5 separate regions of the Homo sapiens genome follow, and regions 2, 3, 4 and 5 are each linked to region 1. The links are contacts of gene promoters, found by promoter capture Hi-C in blood cells and fetal thymus (Javierre and others, 2016). All regions are on one chromosome and are shown on one strand. Each heading gives the region's core, a stretch centred on a gene start or on the middle of the fragment in contact. The rest is flanking DNA. Distances are from core to core; before and after follow the strand shown. Region 1 holds the start of TMEM163 (transmembrane protein 163). Region 2 overlaps TMEM163 (transmembrane protein 163). Region 3 overlaps CCNT2-AS1 (CCNT2 antisense RNA 1). Region 4 overlaps TMEM163 (transmembrane protein 163). Region 5 overlaps TMEM163 (transmembrane protein 163).

Region 1 (4,835 bases), core at 1,521-4,020:
TGTGAAGGGCACAGAGCTAGATGGTCCATATTGTGGAGAGTAATCATAAAGGGTGGTTGCAGAATAATTGACATCAGAATGTGTGTTGGAGGCCGGGGGGCAAGAGGGGTTTAAAGGAAGGTTCCCAGCCAGATCCCAGATCTATTGAACCAGAATCTCAGAGAGCCAGGGAGGAATAATTTTTTTTTTTTGAGATGGAGTCTCGCTCTGTCGCCCAGGCTGGAGTGCAGTGGCATGATCTCAGCTCACTGCAAGCTCCGCCTCCTGGGTTCATGCCATTCTCCTGCCTCAGCCTCCTGAGTAGCCGGGACTACAGGCACCTGCCACCACGCCCGGCTAATTTTCTGTATTTTTAGTAGAGACGGGGTTTCACCATGTTAGCCAGGATGGTCTCGATCTCCTGACCTTGTGATCTGCCCACCTTGGCCTCCCAAAGTGCTGGGATTACAAGCGTGAGCCACCACGCCCAGCCAATTTTTTTTAAGCCCCCAGATGACTCTTAGAATGGGGAAGTGCCTTACAAAATACCCATGCCAAGGTCCCAGCCAAGAACGATCACGTTAAATATGATATCAGAATCTCTAGCAGTCGAAGCTTCGGTATTTTTGTTCTTAGACTCCCCAGGTGATACTTTGAGAGCCATTGACAGGGGGATTAAATGGGATAGACTGGAGGAAAAAAGTGGAGGAGATGACTCTGCAAATATATCTGAAGGATGTTCTACCTTAGAGGATAGAACCAGGATTAATGGGTAGAGATTTTCATTGTCTTTATCCAAGTAATCATAGCATTTTTCTTTTTCTTTGCAGCAGGAAGGGATCTTTGAAATGACGTAGTTCAACTCTTTCAATTTGTAGTTGAAGAAATTAGTGGTCAACAAGGTAAAGTAAGTTGGTCAAGGTCAACTCAGATCTTCTCATTCCAATCCAGCAACAACAATAATAACAGCAGCAACAAAATAAAGTAAGACCCCTCTCCCCATTTCTGGTGATATTTCCAGTGCACCACAAAGGCATTTAAATCCTACTCTCATTTCAATCACAAGCAAAGCAGACAAGAAAAAGGAAAAGGGTGACTCTTCAAGAAACGAGGAGGACTCCTTTAAATGAGGAATTGACATTTTGGAGTACCCGGATTAAATTCAGAGACTGAATCAATCTAAAGACGAAAGCCGGACTCTAGAGCTTGGATGTTGATACCATTGAAACGGTAGGGGCAGAAAAGGTGTGATACTTTCCTCCCCATCATAAGGGGCACGGCAAACATGCTTATAACAAAAGATAGGCTAATAAGAGAAAAGCGTAACAAATTTATTGAATCAAAGTTTTATGTGATACAGGAGCCTTCAGAAATGAAGATGCAAAGACTCAGGGAAAACTGCCTGTTTTTATGCTTAGATTCAGTGAAGAATGGACAGCCTTATAGAAATGTGATTGGACAAAGGGTGTGATCTAATGGTAATAGACTGAGGGTTGAACCCAGCGAGGCCTGTTCAGATTCTTCTTGGCCTCTCTGTGCAGCATGTATAGAGCAGGACCTCTTCTGGAATGAGGGTCTCAGGATCTACTATCAGACAAGGTAGGTCTGAGTATTTCTTCATGGCCAGCTCCTACACAGAAAGGCAGAGGACCAGGGAGGTTGGAGTACTATTTCTAGGTTGTATGACCACCGTAGGGAAGAGGAATTCTGGTTTCTGTGAACTGCTTAGTGGGGAGAAAGTCGGGGGGGAGACAGACTTTGTTTCTAAGGCGGCTTCAGAGGCCTGTTTAGTTTTTTAGTTCAAACTTAGCATACCAAAGTGCCATACGTTGGGGTATACTTTTCTGAGCCTCAACAAATCCAAGCTGAATTTATTAAACAGCAGGTCCTCTTTTGCTCCTCTCTGGGCATCAAGAGAGCTGGCGTGTGCCCTGCGGTGGACTCTCACTGGTGAGATCAGCCCCACCGCACAAAATGAATTAAGAGCTGCAGGGGTCAGAGTAGGGGAGACTTCTCGTAGAAGGGAGGCTTCCATGGATTTCTGAAGATCACACAAGACTTAGATGAGCAGGGGAGCGAACTGTATGGGACAAAGGCCCAGGAAGAGTCGAAATGGGGAAGCCTCGGAGTTCAAGCATCTTCTATAGCGCCCGCTGTCCTAAAGATACCCCATCCCTGGCTAAATGGGTGCTCCAGGGAGAAACTGGGAGGGGAGTTAAAGCTCCGAGAAGGACGGAGAGCGACGGGCTTGGGGACAGATGAACCCTTTTTCCCTGGATGAGCAGTGAGAATGGAGGCCCAGGCGAAGACCCTGTACAGCCTCTGAAGCCTGTGCAGCTCCAGAAGAGAAAGATGCCAAATTAGGGGCGCTGTCTGCTACCCACGCGCGGCCGCGGGCTTCGCGGACCCCAGAGGAATCCAGTGGGAGGGGTCCCCTCTGGGCACCATCCCGCGGCGCAGGTGGGGCGGGTCCCCGCTACGCCCTAGCCAAGCTCTGCCAGGGCCGCCTGTGGGTCCTCACGCTGGTTCCTCCCTCTCGTCCGCCTCGGTGCGCCGGCTCCCGCGCCCGGGCCTTGGGGCGGGTCCCTGCCGCCCGCACCTGCCCCCAGGGGCGGAGCGCGGCGGCAACAACGCGGCCCCAGCCTCCGCCACCGGCCGCGGAGCCGAGCGGCTCTCCGCTCGTCCCCGCCCCCGCCCGTGCACCTCCACTCCGCGGCGCCCGCCCGCCCTCCCTCCCTGTCCACGCGGCCAGTCCGTCCGCTCCTGCCCCCGCCAGAGCCGCGGCGCCTCGCACTTCTGACTCGAGTCCCCGCCGCGCTTGTCGTCGCCGCCGCCGGGATCCGCAGCCCCGCGCCATGGAGCCGGCCGCGGGCATCCAGCGCCGCAGCTCCCAGGGGCCCACCGTCCCGCCGCCGCCCCGGGGCCACGCGCCACCGGCTGCCGCCCCCGGCCCGGCCCCGCTGAGCTCCCCGGTGCGCGAGCCGCCCCAGCTGGAGGAGGAGCGGCAGGTGCGGATCAGCGAGAGCGGCCAGTTCAGCGACGGGCTGGAGGACCGAGGTGAGCGCGAGCTGCCCGACCCGGCCGGCGACCGGGGTGGCTGCTCGGGGCCCGCCTCTCCCCACTCGCGGGCCGCGCTGGGCGAGGCGCGGGGCTCGGAGCGCGCGGGGGCGCGGAGCCCCGACTTCCCGGCGAGAACGCCGCTAGCCGAGAGCGGCAGCCCCACCTTCTGCGGCCGGCACCGCCTCGGCTGCGGTTCCTTCCCTCGAAGCCCAGACCCCAGCTGCCTTCAGGCCGACCCCGCCTGGACTCGCGCCCTCCTCTCCGCCAGCTCCAGGCCCTCCGGCGCCCACGGGAAAAGTTTGCGGGAGGCATTTTTTGCGTTCGGAGTCGAGCGCTTCTGGGCCACTCCGGGCCCTACTCAGCTCGGAGGGACCCAGGCTCGTTGCATCCTCCTTTCCGTAGTCCCCTGCGGCTCCGCCGGCTGCCTGGGAGAACTTCCCTCTGCGGGTGTAGCCGCGAGATGTCCCTCGGCGGCCGCCCGGCTGCCCGCCCCGGCGAAGGGCGCAAGGAGGGGAGCGAGCCGGGACTCGGGCGGCCTCTGGTCTCGGGCAGTCCCCGATTCTAATCGCGGACGCGGGTCACAGTGGGTCCCTGCCCCGTCGTCTCATGATGGGGCAGAGGAATGGGACATTTGGATTTGGGCCACCAACCTCATCTGGATGGATGCCACTGAAACCTGATGTTTCCGGAGGGCGCGTCTGCAGACCCTTCAGAGCTCCCCTCCACTGACACTGGCCTGGAGGTCAGCACACTTGCCTCTGCTGGGAGACCACACTCTGCCTCCCACCGACTGCCGATGCCCCCTTGAGTCGCCAGTGTAGGACGGGAGAGACTCCCTGCTCGTTCCCGCGTCTCTCTTCTCCATCCCTTCCGCGTTTCCTTTGGGCTTGGATTCTTTGCAGAGGGAGCCCTGTTCTTGGCCGCGTCTGCACCTTTTCTACTTCTTGCTGAATCCGAATCCAAATTGTCCCCCTCAGAACGAATCTGTGGTTCTGCTAAAACCGTTTAGTGGCCAAAGAGGGATTCTTGCAGCCAGGCCCTTTAGGGGAAGCCGGCTCTTTTGCACCTCCACCCCCTTTTCTTGGAAGCCTTATTTTGTTGGCTATGGCGGGTTTATATATTTTAGACTTAGCAGGTTTCTGTCCTATTCTTAGTATCTCCTGTACATTTTTATTCCGGTTTAGTGTTCGGATGCACGATCTCTTTCTCCTTAGAAATTCTAAACTGTAGCATGTGAAATAAAATGACATGGAAACGGCAGTTCCCAGAGAATCCGCCTAGATGCTCAGCGAGAACTGGAGCTGCTCCAGTGGCAACGAATTCTGCACCTCTGTTGCAGTTTCTCCCCCTGTTCTCACATAACTAGATGCCATTTAAGAGGTGAGGACAGGGGACATCACGAGCATGGAACAAAACCTCTCACTTTTATTATAGGATGTGTTCATTACCTTTGCCCCTCTCCAGCTAATATCGTAGGATTTAAAAATTCCATATTGAAGAAAGACAGAAGCCTGGGTTGAGCTTATTTTTGTAGCATTGCAGGTCATCTCTAAGAGCTGGCCTGTTTCTCCCTACCCCACAAAATGATAGGAGGGAAGACAGTGCTAGGGTGAGTTCATATTTAGCATCATTTTGTAGTTCATGTTCAAGTGTAAAAAGCCCTTCTGAATTCATTCTTAAGGTTATTTTTCTCTGGTCAACGGAATTTCATTTTCCATTATATGATAGCATGAAAGCATTGACTGTTCGTAAACTGTCACTGTTTGAGAGCGTGGCATATCACACACAGCCTCTCT
Region 2 (4,835 bases), core at 1,179-3,678, 250 kb after region 1:
TCTGCAGTCCATCTAAAATTAAAATTTATATATAGTGTGAAATAAGGATCAGGATTTATTTCTTTCTGTACACATATCCAATTGTTCTAGTGCTGTTAGTTGTAAAGACTTTACATTTTCCACTGGATTGCTTTTGTGCTTTTGTCTAAAACTAAATGACTATATCTGAGAGTGGGATGATTTCTAGGCTATTTTGTTCTGTTGATCTGTATGTCTGTCTGGCTTTATGACAGTATTACTTCTTGATTACAATAGCTTCATAATAAATCAGTTTGGAAATGACTTATTTCATAAATCAAATAAGGAAAGGCCTTGTGTAAACCTTTGAAACTTGTTCTTTTTCAAAATCACTTTACTTATTGTAAGCCCTTTCATTTACACATAACTTTTAAAATCAACTTGTCCATTTTTATTTCTTTAAAAAAGCCTGCTGGGATTTGGCTTAGGGTGGCTTTTGCATCCAGATCGGTTTGGGGAGAACTAACGTTTTAATAATAATTGAACACAGTATATCTTTCCATGTACTAAAATCTTTTAATTTATCTCCGTAATATTTTGTAGTTTTCAGTGCACAGGTCTTACATGTAAAATTTATCACTGAGTATTTAGTATTTTTGTGCTACTTTAAATAGTATTTCCAAAAACTCCATATTTCTAGCTAGTGTACAGAAATACAGTTGAGTTTTACTTGCTAACTTGGTATGTGGTCTTATTAAACTCACTTATAGTTCTAATAAGTATGTTTTGTGTGTGGGAGGAATGGTAAATTAGTGAGGGTTTTCAAAATAGAAAATTATGTAGTCTGTAAATAAAAATGGCTTTACTTCTTTCTTTTCTATCTGTATACTGGCTATTCCCTCCTAATCAGAGTCAAATGGAAGTAATGAAAGTAGATGTCCTTGCCTTTTTCCTGATCTTAGGAGTAACATTCATTTTTTCACCGTTGGTTGATATTAGTTGTAGGTTTTTCCTAGATACCATTTATCAGGTTGAGGAAATTCCTTTCCATTCCTAGAGTGCTGAGAAGTCTTTGGCTTCCTCTGTTTCTCCTTCCCTTCTCCATGAGTGGGTAGTGACACATTTGACACATCAAATGCTTTTTCTGCATCTATTGAGATGATTATATGGGCTTTCTTTTTGTTCTGTCAATATGGGAAATTGCTTTGATTGATATTTGAATGTTTAATCAATATTGGTTCCCCAGGATAAACCCCGTTTGGTCATGTTGTATTATCCTTTTTATATATTGCTGAATTTGTGTTGCTGATACTTTGTTGAGGACTTTTAAGTCTGATTCATGAGAGCTATTGGTCTGTAGTTTTCTTGTGATGCTTCTGCTTTTAGTGTCATGGTAATGCTGGCCTCAGAAATAAATTGGGAAGTGTTTCTTCTTTATCTTTTTTTTTCTGAAAGAGATGTTTTAGAATTGGTTATTTCTCCTTTAAATGATTAAATGTTTGGCAGATTTGCCAGTAAAAGCATTGGGGCCTGAAGTTTTGTGAGAAGGATTTTCACTACAGTTTCAAGGTCTTCGGTTGATACAGGGTTCTTCAGGTTATCTACTTCTTGGATGACGTTTGATTTGTCTATTTCTTCTAAGTTGTCAAATTTATTGGCATCAAGTTGGTTATATCTCCTTGTTATCTTCTTAATAGATCCTGTTGGATCTGTAGTGATGTACCTTCTCTCATTCCTGATATTGGTAACATGTGTCCTCTTTCTTCTAGATGAGTCCTGGAGGTTTATCCTACATTACTGATCTTTATCAAGGTCTTTGGTTTTATTGATTCTTCTCTACTGTTTATTCATTTTCTGTCTCATTGGTTTCTTTTTCTTTTTTTTTTTTTTGAGACAGAGTTTCACTCTTGTTGCACAGGCTAGAGTGCAATGGTGTGATCTTGGGTCACTGCAACCTCTGCCTCCCTGGTTCAAGTGATTCTCCTGCCTCAGCCTCTCATGTAGCTGGGATTACAGGTGTGAGGCACCACACCCAGCTAATTTTGTATTTTTAGTAGAGACAGGGTTTCCCCATGTTGGTCAGGCTGGTCTCGAACTCCTGACCTCAAGTGATCCACCTGCCTCGGACTCCCAAAGTCCTGGGATTACAGTTGTGAGCCACCGCACCTGGTCTGTCTCATTGATTTCTGCTCATAAGTTTATTATTTCTTTCCTTCTCCTTACTTTGGGATTAATTTGATTTTCTTTTAATTTTTTCTTAAAGGCAAAGCTCAGATCATTGATATTAGGCCTTTTAAACATTTTTAAGTACATTATTTACTATAAATTTTCCTCTTAGCTCTGCTTTTGCTGCATACCACTAATTTCAGTATACTGTTGTTCTACTTTATTTCACTTCAAAATATATTGTAATTTCCCTGGTGACTTATTCTTTGATTCATGAGTTTTTAAGAAGTGGGTTGTTTTATTGTTTAGTTTCCAAATACTAGAATATTCTAGATATCATCCTGTTACTGATTTCTAGTTTAATCCCATTGTCAGAGAATATGCCTTGTATAATTCAGTTTTTTAATTGGTTGACATCTTTTTAATGGCATAGAATGTGATCTACATTAATATTACATTTAAAAAGAATGTGTGTCCTGCCTTTGTAGGGTAGATGTTCCGTAAATGTCAGGCAAAGCTGGTTGATCATGTTGTTGAAGTCTTCTGTTTACTGACTTTCTGTTAGTTTGTTCTATCAGTTATGTAAAAGTGTTTTCATTGCTGTAATGAATGGCCCATATGTGCCGTCATTTGCATACATGTACAGGTATAGCAGTAAGATAAATTCACATAAGTGGGTGGCTTGCTCAAAGGGTAGATGTGTACTTTTCAGAGAAATTGTCAAATTGTTCTCTGTACAGGTTGGACCATTTTGCACTGCCACCAGAATTGTATGAGAGACTGTTTTCTCATAGCCTTGTAATATTTTTGGTTAGATAAAAAGGATCTTACTATAGTTTTGGCTTTCATTTCTTTTATGAGCATTTGAGCCTTTTTCATATGTTTAAAATTTATGTTATTTTTAACTGTCTCTCACATATATCTTTGTCCATTTTCTCTTTGTTGGTCTTTTTCCTCTAGATTTCCATGAGCCCTTTCTATAGTAAGGAGATTAACCCTTTGTGATAACCCTTTTCCTAGTTTGTATTTGATCTTTCCCCTGAATATGTCTTAACTTCTCTCTAGTCAAGTATATCAATCTTTTATGGCTTTGCTACTACAAGATGTTGAAGGAGCTTGCCAGCATGGACAAAATTTATGTGGAGTTTACCTTTAATGTACATTTATACTTGGCTTTGAATGAGTGGCTAATTTCCTTAAACCTTTTTGTCATAATCTTCCATCAATCAGTGAAGATTCAACTGTGAGAAATTATAGAGACACAGTGCTGGTAACAGCAGGAACTGAATGCCCAGCAAGGAAATCGCTGTTGCTGTTTTCACGGAGTCCACTGTTGAGGGACATGAGAGATGATGATAAGGCCTTAGATGAGGCAACCTGGTAGAGTTTACAGCTGGGAACAATTCCAGGTCCTGCCACTGCAGAGTGACCCTGGGAAAGTCATTTAGCCTCTCTCCAACTGTTTATGCATCTGTCAGACGCCCACTCTGACAGTGCTGAGAATTCAGTGGCATGGTAGGTGCGGCCGCACCTTGAGAGGAGTCAGTGGTGGAACAGCCTACACGTGTTATGGTTTCTCATCATCAGCCATGTCTCCATGTCTGCTGTGGCTTCCTGACTCTCTGAAAGGAATCTTCTCAGAAACTTCCTTTTATTAAACTTAGAGACTGTCTTAGCTTGGGGTGCCAAAGACAAATGTCGTAGACTAGGTGGCTTAAAAAACAGGAATTTCATCTTCACAGTTCTGGAGACTGAAGTCCACAATGAATGTGCCAGCAGAGTCAGCATCTGGTGAGGGATCCTTCCTTGGGTTACAGATGGCTGCCTTCTCACTGTGTCCTCATGTGTCCTCATGTGGCCTTTCCTTGGTGCACGTCGGTGGTGGGGAAAAAGATCTTCTGTTTTCTTATAAGGGTACTAGTCTCATTATGAGGTCCCCCTATGACCTAATCTAACCCTAATTATCTTTCAAAGGCCCCCTCTCCAAATACTATCACATTGGGGTTAGGGCTTCAACATATGAATTTTGTAGGAACACAGACATCTAGTCCATAACAGGGACTGATGTCTTTTTAAACATAGTTTTATTAGGTAGAGTCTCACTCTATTGCCCAGGCTGGAGTGCAGTGGCACTATTATAGCTCACTGCAGTCTCAACCTCCTGGCCTCAAGTGATCCACTTGCTTCAGCCTCCTGAGTAGCTGGGGCTACAAGCATGTGCCACTATGCCTGGCTAATATTTACATTTTTTGTAGAGACCAGGTCTCGCTATGTTGCCCAGGCTGGTGTTGAACTCTTGGCTTCAAGTGTTCTTCCCGCCTCGGCCTCTCAAAGCACTGGGATTCCAGGCATGAGCCACCATGCCCAGCCAGGTACTGATGTCTTGAGCAGGCTGCTGACTGCATCTCTGTGACATTCTGTTCATGCCAACAGTCAACATGGCAGCCGTGTGGAGAGAGGAGCACGTGCACCGCAGGAGAGCCATCTGGGCCTGGGTAGGGTAATCACAGAGCTTTCAGGACATTGAAAGCTGGTTTTGGGAGAGGAGCTTTGGCAGGTCTGTGCCAGCCTGGATCCTCCTTGGGTTCCTCCGCAGGGTTCATCTGTTTCTGAGGCAGATCCACTCAGCAGTGGTGAGCTGCAGCCTGCAGCTTTGCGTGACACTCAGAGATGGCCCCAGACTCTGTTCCTCTACAGGGAAAGGTAATTGC
Region 3 (4,835 bases), core at 1,708-4,207, 190 kb before region 1:
TCTTTATGCAGGGCTATGTATGCTACAGGCATTGCTTAAAGACCTTGCTGCAGAACACCTTGGTATGCTGTGGTCAAACATCAGTTATCATGGCGAGTCTCCTTCCAGATGGAGTCACTCTTGCCATACAATGGCTGTTTTCCTACACAGACACAAGGCTTCATTTATCCTGTTTCTCCTGCCTGGAATACTCTTCCCTTCCCTTTTTACCTTTTAGCTGTTGTTTGCTTTCAGATCCTAGCTCAAGCAAAACTTTTTTCTGAAAAATCTTTCTCCGACTCTGACTAGGACAAATCCTTTATAATAAGCTTTCTACATACTATGTGCCTTTCCTTCTTAGCTCCTGTTGTGGTAGCAATTTTCTATTGATTTGTTGCTTACTTGATACATGTCTCCCTAACTAGATTATAAGCACAACTGAGGGCAGGAACCATGATTGCTTTTTTCATACTCTCAGAATCTAGCATGGTTCTTGGCCCATCATAAGTCCTGAATAAATTTTGTTGAATGCATGAGTGAATGAAGACTTAGGTCATCCCTCAAGAAAGTCCAGTCTAGAAGGCAGATAGGAATCACAACTCAAAATGAGAGGTGTGCTCTGTTAGAGATAGCAGTACATTTTTTTTTTTGTTTTCGGTTTTTTGAAGGGGGAGTTACTGAGCGATGAAATCCCAAAGCCTAGAAACCAGCACTTTAGGTCCTGAGGAATTTTAACAGAGAAAGTAATATAATCAAATACATACTTTGGACATTTTTATCTGGCACCAAGGTAGAAGATGGGTTGTACCAGACTAAGCCAAGGGGCAGGGGTACAAATAAGGGATTATTTCAATATCCTGCTGAGAGATGAAGACCTGAATTTAGTTGGAAGCCATATGGAGGAAAGAACAGATAAGAAATAAAAGATATAAAATGAGTTGAATCTTTTGGATTTAATGGTGTATTGATACGGGTGAAGGAGAAGGATTAGGTGACTGGGTGATGCCATTCATCAGGTTGGGACTGTAAGAAGTGGAATTAAATTTTGGGATAAAGGGATTGAGTTATATCTGAGGCATATGGTTCTATTGAATACCGTAGTATTGTAGCTTTGATTTTGTGTGTGTGTGTGTATGCCTAATGCTGTTAGGACTTCTTGAAACATTGTCTGCTCTTGACTCCTGAGTATATTTTCCTGGTTTTCCTCCTACCTCACTGGCTACTCTTCTGTGCACAAAGCTGGTGCCTTCATCTAACTTTTTTTTTTTTTTTTTTGAGACAGAGTCTCGCTCTGTCACCCAGGCTGGAGTGCAGTGGCACGATCTCGGCTCACTGCAACCTCCGCCTCACGGGTTCAAGTGATTCTCCTGCCTCAGCTTCCCGATTAGCTGGGATTACAGGCACGTGCCACCATGCCCGGGCTAATTTTTGTATAGCCTTCATCTAACTTCTAAGTGTTAGTGAATCCCAGGAAATAGGCCTAGGGTCTTTTGCGTCTCTACTCTACTTTTTCACCAGGTGATTTCATCCAGTCTCATTTCTTTAAATACCTTTTATACACTGGTGATTTTTCCCTAGCCTCTCTCTTGAACTCTCCAGACTAGAACACTCAAGTGCTTACTTGACATTCCTACTTAAATGTCTAAGAGGCATCTGAAATATAACAAGTCCAACTACAGAACTGTTGATTCTCTTTCCTCTCAAGACTGTTTCTCCCATAGTCTTCCTCATTATGGTATATGGTAATAAATCTACCCAGCTGTTCAAGTGAAAAGCCTGGGAATCAAAGCACCTATGTTTAAAGTATGGATGCATTTAACACCATTAACTACTATTAATCATCTCAAACCTTAAATGTCACCAGGAGTATGTGCCCAGGAAAGTCCTAGTTAGAAAACCCTCTTTACACCCAGATTAAAGAGGAATTCTCGCATCTTTTCTTCTAGTACCTGCATAGTTTAATATTTTAGAGTTAAATCTTTGATCCAATCAGAGTTGTAGTTTATCCATATGTATGATTTGGGAAATGAATCAAATTTTATTGCAGTATTATTTATAATTACAAAACATTAGGAATTATTTAAATGTCCAAATATAGGAGACTGATTGACAAAAGCATGGTGTGCACATGTGTACACACACTTCACATTCACATGCCCAGGAGTCAGCCTTGATTTCTTTCCTCCCCTTCCTCCCTCTTCCTCACATTTAGTCCATCATTAAATGCTGTTGGTTCTGCCTACAAACATATCTCATGATCCCCATTCTTGTATTTATGCCTGAGTCACCATCATTTCTTGCCTAGCCTCCAACTTCCTTTCTTGACTCCCTTTAATAGGTCTCTACAAAGCTGTTAATGTATATGGGTTTCTTTTTTCTTTTTTTCCTCCTCTCCTCTCCTCTCTTTTTTCTGAGACAGGGTCTCACTCTGTCACCCAGGCTGGAGTGCAGTGGCATGATCCTAGCTCACTGCAGCCTCGAACTCCTGGGCTTAAGCCATCCTCCCATCCCAGCCTCCTGAGTAGCTGAGATTATAGGAATGAGCCACCACACCCAGCTAATTAAAAAAAAATTTTTTTTTGTAGAGATTGCTGTGTTGCCCAGGCTGGTCTCAGTCTCCTGGCTTCAAGTGATCCTCCTGCCTCAGCCTCTCAAAGTGTTGGGATTACTGTTGCAAGCCACTGCACCCTTCTATTTTTTGTTTGTTTGTTTTAAAAGAATAACATAAGTCCGAGCATGTCACAGACCTATTAAAAAGTCTCCAGTGGTTTCCTATGAAACAAGATAAAAATCTTGGGCAGGCGTGGTGGCTCATGCCTGTAATCCCAGCACTTTGAGAGGCTGAGGCGGGAGGATCACGAGGTCAGGAGATTGAGACCATCCTGGCCAACAGGGTGAAACCCCGACTCTATTAAAAAAAAAAATTAGCTGGACCTGGTGGCGCGTGCCTGTAATCCTAGCTACTCAGGAGGCTGAGGCAGAAGAATCACTTGAACCAGGGAGTCAGAGGTTGCAGTGAGCCGAGATTGCGCCACTGCATTCCAGCCTGGCGACAGGGTAAGATTCTGTCTCAAAAAAAAAAATTATCTGGACCTGGTGGCACGTGCCTGTAATCCTAGCTACTCAGGAGGCTGAGGCAGGAGAATCACTTGAACCAGGGAGTCGGAGGTTGCAGTGAGCCGAGATCGCGCCACTGCATTCCAGCCTGGTGACGGTACGATTCTGCCTCAAACAACAACAACAACAACAACAACAACAACAACAAAAACTCAACCCTTGACCATGATCTACTGATCTAGCCAACTTTTTGGCTTCCTCTCCTGTCTCCCTTCCTTGCTCACAAACTTGTCACGAGGTTTCTTGCCTCAGAACCTTTGCATTTTCTTCACTGTTCTATCATTCAAATCTCAGTTGAAAGTCCTCTTTAAAGAGGCCTTCTCTGACTCTACAATTTAACGTTTTACCCCCCCATCTTTCTCCTAGTCACTACCACATTTTCGTTTTAATTTCTTCATAGTGTTTATCAGTATAAGAAAAATTTCCTTCCTTCTTTCCTCCTTCTGTTCCTCCTTTTATTCCTCTTTTTCTTCTTCCTTACCTTATTTATGTTTCTCACTCTTCAGATTGTAGGTTTTGTCAGAAAAGGAATTTTATCTTTTTTGTTTACATCTATACCCCCAGTGCCTGGAGCATTCCTATAGTCCTGGCACATAGAAAACATGTGAATATGAATATATCCATTCACTCTGCATGTGTATGTGTGTGTATGATATTGAATAAAGTGATTGGGTTACTTTTTATAATAAAACAATCATTAAATGCTGTATTCAGAGTGCTCAAATATAGAATATTTGAAAAGGTATGGACTTTATCCCCAAAGATTGGGGAAGGAAAAAATAACATATGGTTCATGTTGTTGCTTTGTTCAACTTTGTTTTCCTTTTTGGGCAGATTGGAGCAATAAGCAGATGGTGGGTGAGTAAAATCCTAGAAAGAAATGGTGGGGGGTGGGGTGAGAAGGAGGTGGGGCAATGAACTATATAAAGTGAAAATAATGGCGTGAGCATAGTGAAGTAAGAATTAGATCTCATCTTTATTCTGGAGAGGGGTCAGCACAAATTACATGTCAATACTCAACTCTTGATTTTCTAGATGAATGGAAGGGAAAATAATGAATGAATCCATGCTTGATTTTGGAATTCAGCCAGAGGCAGATGAACCATAGATTTCATCACCCATCCCAGGACCAAGTTCCTTTTCAGCAGCCCAAGTGGGACCATAAATGAAATGGGTAAAACAAGGCTACCCTGGTATTGCCCTATTAACTTTCCACAGTTAGCTTCATACATTCTGCTCGGTATTTTAAAATCAAAAGAGCTTCTGGTAGGAGTAAATTTATAGACAAAAACTTTTAAAATGGATGTCTCATTCAGTCTGAAACCACAGCTGTGTTCCCATAGTTTTGCCTTCCTGTTTCCCATCCTCTAACCCTAAAAATTCCTTATTCATCTCCTGGACTCTCATGTTCCACCCTCTGTGAAGATCTGCTCCACAGTTTTAGACCAAAGTGAATTCCGCTTAACGAAACTTCTTTGACACTCAAAGTTGATAGCTTAGTAATTATTCCATGAACATCTCTTACCTCCTTAATTGGTCTGGAAGCTCCCTGAGGTTATGGATATCCTATATTCATGTTATTTATTTTGTGGAGGCTAAAGCATTCCCAGCCCAGTTCTGGGCTAATGGTAGGTGTTAAAGGCAGATGGAACAGGTTATTTGAGTCCAATTCACATATCTTTGTTCAAAATGGACAACCTACCTAAGTCTTCTAGGATGAATCTTTCTCCATATAAATC
Region 4 (4,835 bases), core at 1,597-4,096, 160 kb after region 1:
TCAAAGTAGAACTTGTTGGATGCAAATAATGTATATCTTACATTTTGATAAACATCTCCAAGCTGCACCTCTAAGAGGTTTCCCCACTGACACCAAATGAGACATTTGTCCTCATGCCCTCACCAGCACTCAGAATTTGCAAAAAAAATTTTTTTTTTGAGATGGAGTCTCACCCTGCCACCCAGGCTGGAGTGCGGTGGCATGATCTTGGCTTACTGCAAGCTCCACCTCCCTGGTTCAAGCGATTCTCCTGCCTCAGCCTCCCAAGTAGCTGGTACTATAGGCACGTGCTACCACACCTGGCTAATTTTCGTGTTTTTTAGTAGAGACGGGGTTTCACCATATTGGCTGGGCTGGTCTCGAACTCCTGACCTTGTGATCCACCCACCTCAGGCTCCCAAAATGAGATTACAGGCGTGAGCAAAATCCTTTTATATCTGCCATTGTAAAAGGTAGAAATGGGACGGATCTTCATTTTCTTCTCGTTTTTTCAGTTTTGCTACCTTATGTTTATCAGTTATTTTAAATTCCTTTTCTAAAATTGCATGTTCATGTTGCTTTCTTGCCTTATCTTTTAGGCTCTTGGGCTTTTAAAAAATTTAGTGATTTGCAAGTATTCTTTTAAAAATTGAAGTATAATAGACATACAGAAGCATCATTGATGAAAATCCCATAGCTTAATGAAGTTTCACAAAGTGAACATAGCTGTGTAGCCACCACTCACACTCATCTTCCCACCTGAGAAGACCTGTTCATGCCCCGTCTTTGACACCGCTCCCTGCCCTGGAGGTGACCACCAGCCTGAATTCTACCACTGTGGATTTGCTTTGTCTATTTTTGAACTTTATACAAACCAAATCATACATAGATTATCCAATGAGTGCTTTTGTGTTTGCCTTTGCTGAGATGCATACGTGTAGTTGTGATTAGCTGTAATTCATGTATTGTCATTGTTGTATTTCACTGGATGAATATACCACCAGTTTATCCATTTCTACTATTGACCAATGTTTGTGCTGTTTCCAGTTTTGGCAATTAGGAATAACACTGCTGTGAACATTTTGTAAGCATCTTCAAGTATCCATATGTATGTATGGTTTTTTTTTTTTTCTGGAGACAGAGTCTTGCCCTCAGTCGCTCAGGCTGGAGTGCAGTGGCTCAGTCTTGGCTCACTGCAACCTCTGCCTCCCAGGTTGAAGTGATTCTCCTGCCTCAGCCTCCCGAGTAGCTGGGATTACAGGCTCCTGCCACCACGCCTGGCTAATTTTTGTATTTTCAGTAGAGACGAGGTTTCACCATGTTGGCCAGGCTGGTCTCGAACTCCTGACCTCAGGTGATCCACCTGCCTCGGCCTCCCAAAGTGCTGGGAGTACAGGCATGAGCCACTGCACCCAGCCATAAGTATGTATTTCCATTGAGTATATATCTAGGGATGGAATAGCTGGGTCATGGAGTAAGATCACTTTTGTTTTTGTTTTTGTTTTTGAGACAGTCTTGCTCTGTCACCCAGGCTGGAGTGCAGTGTTGTGATCTCAGATCACTACAACCTCTGCCTCCTGGGTTCAATCGATTCGTGTGCCTCAGCCACCTGACTAGCTGGGATTACAGGCACGCGCTACCACACCTGGCTAATTTTTGTACTTTTAGTAGAGATCAGGTTTCACTATGTTGCCCAGGCTGGTCTCAAACTCCTGGCCTCATGTGATCTGCCTGCCTCAGCCTCCCAAAGTGCTAGGATTACAGACATGAACCACCGCACCTGACCTGATCAGCTTTTATAGAGACGGGCAGCCAGTTTTTAAAAGTATTTGTACTGTTTTACACTTCCACCAGCAGTTCAAGAGTTCAGTTGTATTGCATCCTTACTAACGTTTGAAACTGTCAGCTTTTTTACTTTTTAGTCACACTTTGAGTATGTAGTGGCATCTGTGGTTTTAGTTTTATTGTCCCTGGTTACCAATAAGTAGAGTATATTTTCATATGTTTATTGGTCATTTGTGTATCATCTTTCATGAAGCTTGTTAAGTCTTTCACCCATTTTCCTATTGGGTTGATTTCTCTTTCTTAGTGATTTATAAGTCTATATGTTCTGGATATAAGTCCCCTGGTAGTTATGTTTTATAAATATCTTCTCAATAAACTCGATGGCTTGCTGTTTTGCTCTTTGAAGGAGGTCTTTAATGTAGTTCAGTTTACGAGTCCTTTCCCTTATGATGAATGCATTTATGTCTAGTTTAAAAAATCTTTACCTTTCCCCAAGATTATGAAACTCCATGCCAATATTCTATTTCAGACCTCTCCTATGTTAACCTTACACTTTTATATCTACAGCTCATCGACAGTTTTCTCTATATGGAGTAAGGTAGGGTCATAATTCAGTCATTTCATATGGATGTCCAACTGGCCCAGTACCATTTATTGAAAAGAACTTTCTTTCCCCCGTGTATTTTAGGGGTACTTTTGAAATATATAAATCAAGTAACCATATCTGTGTGGGTCTTCTTTTGTTCTGTGGTCTCTTTGTTTATCCTTGTGCTAATATCATTTTATTTACTGTAGCTTTGAAATCTTCGTATCTGGTAGTGACTGTCTTCCAGGTTTTTTTGGTTGTGGTTGTTAACGGTTGTCTTGGCTATTCTCCCTGCCCACCCTGCCACCGCCACTGCTGCCGCAGTGGAGTCTCGCTCTGTCACCCAGGCTGGAGTGTAGTGGCATGATCTCGGCTCACTGCAACCTCCGCCTCCGGGTTCAAGAGATTCTCCTGCCTCAGCCTCCCGAGTAGCTGGGACTACAGACACCCACCACCACGCCTAAGGTTTTTGTATTTTTAGTAGATACAGGGTTTCTCCATGTTGTCAGGTTGGTCTCGAACTCCTGACCTTAGGTGATCCACCTGCCTTGGCCTCCCAAAGTGCTGGGATTACAGGTGTGAGCCACCGTGCCTGGCCTGTCTTGGCTATTCCTGATTCTTTTCACTTTCCACATGAACTCTGGCTTCATCTTATCAATTCTGTCACCACCTGCTAGGATTTTAATTGGCCACAGTGAGGCTTCCAGTCCACAAACATGGTATGTTTCTTCATATATTTAATAGTTGTCTTTAATTTCTCCTAAAATATTTCATTGCTTTTCTAGGTAGAAGTCTTGCATATTTTTTTAGTTTCATTAGTTTTTTCCTAGGTATTTGATAATTTTGTTGTTTTGAATAGAGCCTTTTAAAAATTACATTTCCTTCGTTTGTGGCTAATATAGAAATAACTGGAATTTGTGTATTCACTTAATGTGTGGTGGCCTTGCTGAATTCACTTCTTAATTCTTTCTAGTTCCCCTATTCTGTCTGCCAGTTTGCCAGTGCCTCACTGCTCTAATAATTGTGACTTTGTGGAGAACCAGGCATGCAGGGAGCAGCAGGCAGCTTTAATTTGAGTACTTATTCTCGGGGCACCTGATCTCAGTGATCTACCTTGGGGAACATCTTCCTGCCTTGAATATAAGAGAAGACTGCCTGGCTGGCAGTGGAGCCTTGGCTCCTCTCGTTGATGGAATGGTGGTGTCTGATTCTTGTATCGGTGTCTGTCTGAGCACGCACTCCTTTGGTTCACGCCTTTGCTCTCTAGTGTGTAGAATATCAGGAAAGGGTCCAGGGGTGGATGCTGGAGCTCAGCTCCAAGCTTGCCATTGCATATAAGGGACAATCGTTTGGATTACTGATGACTGTGCCATCTAATTGTGGAAAAGTCTAAGCTCTGCCCAAGATTTGATTGAGACATATTATCAGCTGTCAGCATCTTCTCCTAGCATGGTCTAAATTTTAATGTATTTTGTAGATTCCCTTTATAACTTAGGTTATTGGGGGTTGGCCATTTTCTGGATCTTTGATCATTTTATTCTTTTTCTAGTTTTTTCATGTTTCTTGTTGCTTTGGGTTTTATGGAGCAGGGTGGTGAGGAGAGAGGACAAAAGGGCTGTATTCCACCATGTTTAACTTGTATTCTTTGAGTGATCACGTTAATCTTCAAATGACTTTGATTCAGATCAAATGAGTTGGTGTTTGTTCAGCATAGTTTCTTTAAGCCAAATCTCTGGACCCTTATTCAGTGTATTTTTCTTCTTCATAGTATGTTCTGTTCTTTAAAATGTTTCTTAAGCGACTTTTCAAACCAAAGAGGTTCAATGTGTTTGGAATCAGCAGTGCAGACCAAGGGCCATCTCAGTGGCCTGGCAAGGATGACCTTGGGTGACAATATCCATGCCTTTGCTAGCTCTTCTTGCCCGTAGTGTTAGCTTTTGGTTCTGGTCTGAATTGACTGTCACACATTAAATAAAAGCCAGAAATTATAATTGGGGGTTAGAGATTCTTCCAGTCTTGTTCAGTTTAACAAGGATTTTTTGAGCACTGACAATGCACTTGTGCTTGAGCACACAGACCCTGAGGATAGAGACAAATATGATACAACCCTTGACTTCACGCTTTTGTGTGCTGCTTGGGAGAAGGCAAGGAGCATTTCTGTGTTTTATAAAAGAAAGGCAGCTAGGGGCAGGGAGCTTTGGGGCCCAAAAAGACACCAAGCCAAAGTAAAAAGAATGGACTGAAAATGAGTTTACCTAGAAACAAGCTTCAAACTCCCAGCAACCTCACAGGTATTTAACATAGAAGACAAGAGAAGATAAAATGCGAAAGTTCTGTTCTATAAATTTTATCCCCATCTCTGTTTATCTAATGAATGCTTTACTTACTGGGCTAAAGGAGCTGCATTCTATGATTAAGGGAAACATAAGGCTTTAAAATGTATGTTTTATCAAATTGTTGGGCAAGCAACTGCTGTATCCCCAGC
Region 5 (4,835 bases), core at 638-3,137, 140 kb after region 1:
ATTTTTAGTAGAGACGGGGTTTCACTGTGTTAGCCAGGATGGTCTCTATCTCTTGACCTCGTAATCTGCCCGCCTCGGCCTCCCAAAGTGCTGGATTACAGGCGTGAGCCACCCCACTCGGCCATTCCAGGTATTTTTAATGTATTAACTCATTTGATTCTCACAACAACCCTCTAAGAGGAAATGGAGGAACAGAGAGATTAAATAACTTGCCTAAAGGTTTTACTAGATGGTTCTATTTGCAGCCATCACTTGAGAATCTATTAGGTCCAGAGTGTGAGGTAGCCAGACTCTGTGCCTGTAGTCCCATAGTCCCAGCTACTCAGGAGGCTGAGGTGGGAGGATCACTTGAGCCCAGGAGTTTGAATCTGGCTTGGACAACACAGTGAGACCCTGTCTCTAAAAAAGAAAAAAGAGGACGAGGTTGCCATCTCTTTCTGTCCCTGTTTCCAGGTGGGGTTGAAATGTGATGGTTAGATTTAATAAAGATCTCTACATGTGACATAGTTATAAGAGAATGAAATGTCTGCAGGCAGAGCTCACAGTTTAGGGGCCTCTCAAGTTCTATATGAAGAATACCCAGGCATCCATGAAGTGTCCTGTCCCTGAAGTGTCTGTGGAGTAGTTGGCAGGTCACTGGTGCTGGGTCTGGAGCTGGGCATTGGACTCTGCTGCTTACCAGCTCTTTGATTCTGGACAAGTCATTGCCTTTGGTGAGCCTCATGTTCCTTAGCTAGAAATGGAAATACTACTCTAAGTTTACATGCTAAGCTTAGTACCTGGCACATTGTGGATACTTTCACATTATAGATAATTTGAATGAACATTTGTGTCTGAATCCGGTAAAAGTTGCCACCCAGACTCTCTGGCCACCCAGACTCTCTTATTTCTTTAGCAAGAGTCTCGAGTCTTTATCACATGCCTTTGTACTTTTTTTTTTTTTTTTTTACTAGAAATTTCAGAGAGGTCTTCTAAAATGCAATGGTCAAGAAACTTACGTTTCTGGGTACTTTATCTTCCAAACAAACATTGAGGATTGTGCCTTGCCTGGAACTTAGTTAATGGGGAGGGGTTTTTCACCTGTGATTTTTCACATGGGTGACCATAGAGCAGGCATATAGGCCACCTGGCTATCCTACATAATGATCTCTGGACATTCATTCCATGACCTCTGCCTTGTAGGATCTTAGTGCACACATGCTTTTGTGGATGTTGCTTCAGACACCATGGCTGGGCAGTGAGTCTGTGGTTTTTGCTAGAGGCTGCTGCCCTTCCCTGATGCAGCCGTCTCTTGGCAGCGTGATCTGTTTATGTTCTTCATTTCAAGGTTTTTCATTGTTCCTTAGTTCTGCTGCTGGCAGCAGTTGAGAAATTATACTTGGATATCAATTAGGGCATCCAAAATATGACTTTATCCTGGAGCAGGGCAAGGAGAGCTTAGTGATGTGCTTGCTTTATCATTTAACCTTTACATCTGCCAAGCAATAGTCTGCATTTCCTGTGCAGAGATTTTGTAGCCCATCTATTCAGCACTACTAGGAGCCAGGTGCTGCTCTAGGCCCTGGAGATGGAGCAGTGAACAAATGGTCAGAAATTCCTGCCTCAGGGAGTGAGAAATAAAATACATATTAGATTGTGAGGGATGCTATGGAGAAAAATGAAGCCAGAAAGGGGATGGAGGAGGACAGGAATAGCAGTTATGCGTTCAATAATGTGGTCAGAAAAAGCCTCCCTGAGAAAGCTACAAAGATGGGAGGGATTGAGGGAGCAGAGAGCAAGCCATGGGCCTGAGAGCAGGGGGCATCTCATAGGGGGCAGGCAGACAGTGTGGCTGGAGCAGATGTAGGGGAGGGGAGGGGACCATGAGGTCACTGGGAGTGATGGTGCGTGAGTGCTAGGCTATGAAAGATCTGTTAGTGGTTTTACAGCATGGCTGACAGTAGCTGCATGGATGTGGTGAACCCCTTTTCCGAGAACTCCATTGCCTTCAGTTTCGTTATTGGCCCTTGAGTTCTTTCTCGATTGTAGATCAAACGGCCTCCCATTTCTAGGGGTCGTGGCCTTCTCCATGGGGTTTGAGTGAGAAGTGTCATGGTGCTGAACTTGGTTTTATTGCTTTTGTTTCTTCGAACTCTAGGAGCCTCTTCTTAGATTGCCGTCTGAAATTTTTATCACTGTAAGTGACAAATACAAAGCGCCCAGAAGGTAATAATGATGCGAACTATTTATTAGAAACTTACATGCCAGTAAGCACTTGCTGTGGGTCTAAATGTGTCCATGTGTCAGCTCTCTTGATACAGAGCAACTCCATTAGGTAGAACTCCCATTTTGTGGGGAAGGAAACCAAGGCACAAAGACATTAAATAAATTGTCCAATTTTATGTGGCTTGCCAGCGTGGGATGAGGATTCAAATCTGGGTAGCTGGATTCCAAAGTTGGTGCTGTGACTGCTGTGCTGAGAGGAGCTTTCTGGTGAAGCTCCACCGTTCTCTGTCCACAGGACTAAGCAGAAATGAAGTTCTTCTCATATTTTTTTAAAATCCAAATAATCATTGCACAGAGATGCCTGTTAAAATAGAGAAATATGTTTTAGTGCCATTTTTATAGGAAGAATGGTCCCAGAGTAGAGATCTCTTAGCATATATGTGGAGTGTGTTCAAGCCAGTGGATTCTTCTCTACTTTTGCAGGTAGAAGGGAATTTAGGCCCCTTGGACCCAGAAGCCATTTTTCTGCCCCCTACCTTTCCTCCTCTCAGGATGGAGGCGACCCCCAGCCCCCACATGAGATATCACCACTTCCTCTTCCTCACCTGCCAGTGACTCACTGTTGCCAAAACTAAAGCATCAGCTTGAGACATGATTATTTTTTTCTTCCTTGTTTCAGAGACAGCACTTATGATGACTGAGTGGCTGTATGCAAGTCATGAGAATCACATGGCAGGACCTAGCACCACCATGCACCAGCTTGGGCTTGGGTTTCTGATTAGTCTGAGTGAAGCTTTGACGTGAATTTTTGTCTTGTCAGACTCCAGTTAACTTCAACAGGGACGGCACTAGGTTCAAGAGTCCAGAGAAGAGACCCAGAGCCAGCAAATGAGATATGGGGTTTTATTTGTGAGAACTTACATGCAGGAACAGTCCAAAGGTGGCAGACTGGACAGGAGAACTGCAACCTCTTGCAAAAAGCGTGCGGTTTGTAGAGCACTTGCACTTAGCAGCGGCCCCCGCATGGCAGCTGTCATTTCTTAAGTTATTGCTATTAGGTGCACCTACCATACTGACCTTCCCCCACCTACAGGAGCTGGGAACATTCCTTATGCTCTTTGGGGGATTTGGGTTGCCTTTTTTGAAGTTGATGAGAAAACAATTTTGCAAAACTTACTCCCCTTCCCAGCCTTTGTCCTCTCTTTTAGTTCCTTTCTAATTAGGCATCTTCCCATAGCACATGGCGATCTTCTTGTCTTCCCTTTTTGACATGACTGTGGTTTCTAGGAAACTGAAAGTTTTAAACTCTTGCATACCTTGTGCTCTCTCATGGTTCTCTGCCGTGTGTGTGAACCCAAGCAGTGCTGGTTGCAGTGCTGTTGATACTTCTATGCGCACTCATGGTGACAAGGAAACCCTTCAGCTTTATGACACCGTTAGGAAGGACAAAGTCTTCAATATGTGTAGCCATATTTTGAACGATGGAATATTTAACATGGAGAATCAGTGGTTCAAGGGCAGGAGGGAGATGGAAGGGTAGTTGCCTTTTTGGTTCTGCTGCTTCTTGTAAAGTTGTGTTCTTTGGTCACTCTGGTATCATTATTGTACATGTGTATATGCATATGCTGACATGGGCAAGGGGAAAGTATGGGGAAACTAAAGGTAGGAGATCCTCCCCTCAAAATGAGCTGACTTGACTTTTGAACTTGTTTTCTCATCAACCTCATAAAATTCATCTCCCCCCCGCCCCCATAAAGAGCATGAAGAATGTTCCCAGCTCCTGTAAGTGGGGGAATTGCTGGTGGTTTGTTTGGGGGAAGGGCAGTGCAGCAATGCAGCCAGAGTGGGGTGGCAGCTGCTATTTTACATTTGGAAGGAAGTGGACCCAGTTCTGGAATGAACATAAATGTTGACATTCAATTTCTCTCACCAAAGTAAAGTGGAGAATTTTAGATATGTTCTGAAAGAGATAAGCATGATGTGTTGCTAAGGCTATTTGCATGTAGACACTTATGAAGAAGATGTGAAAATTGTTTCTGTGTTATGTATATTCTAGTTAATTAAAAAAAAATTAGTTGGCCTTTTAAGGGAAAGGAGCTTGTTGAGTTATTCATCAAGTAGCTACTTTGGGTGATAGAAGCTTGGTTTAAAAAAGAAAAAAAAGGAAGATCAAGGTTAACCAGAAATGGTGCCTCAGGAAGCAAATGTATATATTGGACTACAAATCCTTTTCCGTCGGATTTGCCCCATGTGTCTGTGACTCTCCCTTCAGTGCCCTCCTGCCCTGATTCTGTTGTTCTTGGCACCTGCGTCTGTGATGGTCAGGAAGTTTAGGTCTTCATTAGAGGGTCCAGGGACTGAATTGAGCCCCAGAGGTTATCTCATGAAGCCCCGCCTGGAGAGATTGGTTAGTCAAACCCAGAACCACCATCCACATCTTGCTCCTGTCCTAGGGCTGGTTTTTTTTGAGGCAGAGTCTCGCTCTGTCACCCAGGCTGGAGTGCAGTGGAGCCATCTTGGCTCACTGCAACCTCCACCTCTGGGGTTCAAGCGATTCTCCTGCCTCAGCCCCCTGAGTACATGGGATTACAGACATGCACCATCACTCTCGGCTAATTTTTGTATTTTTT

Evidence for each region. Contacts are between HindIII fragments. The CHiCAGO score rates a contact against its expected background, and 5 or more counts as called.
Region 2: a contact is called between a fragment that was not itself captured here and the fragment with the promoter of TMEM163 in region 1, in 1 of 17 cell types (megakaryocytes). The highest score is 8.2, in megakaryocytes.
Region 3: a fragment that was not itself captured here is called in contact with the fragment with the promoter of TMEM163 in region 1 in 2 of 17 cell types (megakaryocytes and M0 macrophages); the score reaches 6.8 in megakaryocytes.
Region 4: a contact is called between a fragment that was not itself captured here and the fragment with the promoter of TMEM163 in region 1, in 2 of 17 cell types (megakaryocytes and naive CD4 T cells). The highest score is 6.1, in megakaryocytes.
Region 5: a fragment that was not itself captured here is called in contact with the fragment with the promoter of TMEM163 in region 1 in 4 of 17 cell types (megakaryocytes, naive CD4 T cells, naive CD8 T cells and 1 more); the score reaches 7.7 in megakaryocytes.

The regions. Positions count from the first base shown.
Region 1 is chr2:134,716,935-134,721,769 of GRCh38, reverse strand. It overlaps TMEM163 (transmembrane protein 163), which reads left to right and starts at 2,770. Exons shown (of 8, transcript NM_030923.5): 1 at 2,770-3,036. The coding sequence starts at 2,835. LOC105373629 (a long non-coding RNA gene) reads right to left here and starts at 3,658. Exons shown (of 2, transcript XR_923354.4): 1 at 3,203-3,658. RefSeq lists an enhancer at 1-744 and a silencer at 2,447-2,686. The HindIII fragment of the contact is 5,110 bases long and covers 597-4,835 here.
Region 2 is chr2:134,470,549-134,475,383 of GRCh38, reverse strand. The region is part of intron 5 of TMEM163 (transmembrane protein 163); the gene reads left to right. Among named protein-coding and RNA genes, the nearest start is that of MGAT5, 220 kb to the right of the region's middle. The HindIII fragment of the contact is 7,682 bases long and covers 1-4,835 here.
Region 3 is chr2:134,902,125-134,906,959 of GRCh38, reverse strand. The region is part of intron 1 of CCNT2-AS1 (CCNT2 antisense RNA 1); the gene reads left to right. Among named protein-coding and RNA genes, the nearest start is that of CCNT2-AS1, 14 kb to the left of the region's middle. The HindIII fragment of the contact is 5,293 bases long and covers 311-4,835 here.
Region 4 is chr2:134,561,886-134,566,720 of GRCh38, reverse strand. All of the region lies in intron 2 of TMEM163 (transmembrane protein 163), which reads left to right. Among named protein-coding and RNA genes, the nearest start is that of TMEM163, 150 kb to the left of the region's middle. The HindIII fragment of the contact is 1,654 bases long and covers 2,020-3,673 here.
Region 5 is chr2:134,580,750-134,585,584 of GRCh38, reverse strand. All of the region lies in intron 2 of TMEM163 (transmembrane protein 163), which reads left to right. Among named protein-coding and RNA genes, the nearest start is that of TMEM163, 140 kb to the left of the region's middle. RefSeq lists an enhancer at 1,783-1,832. The HindIII fragment of the contact is 2,227 bases long and covers 774-3,000 here.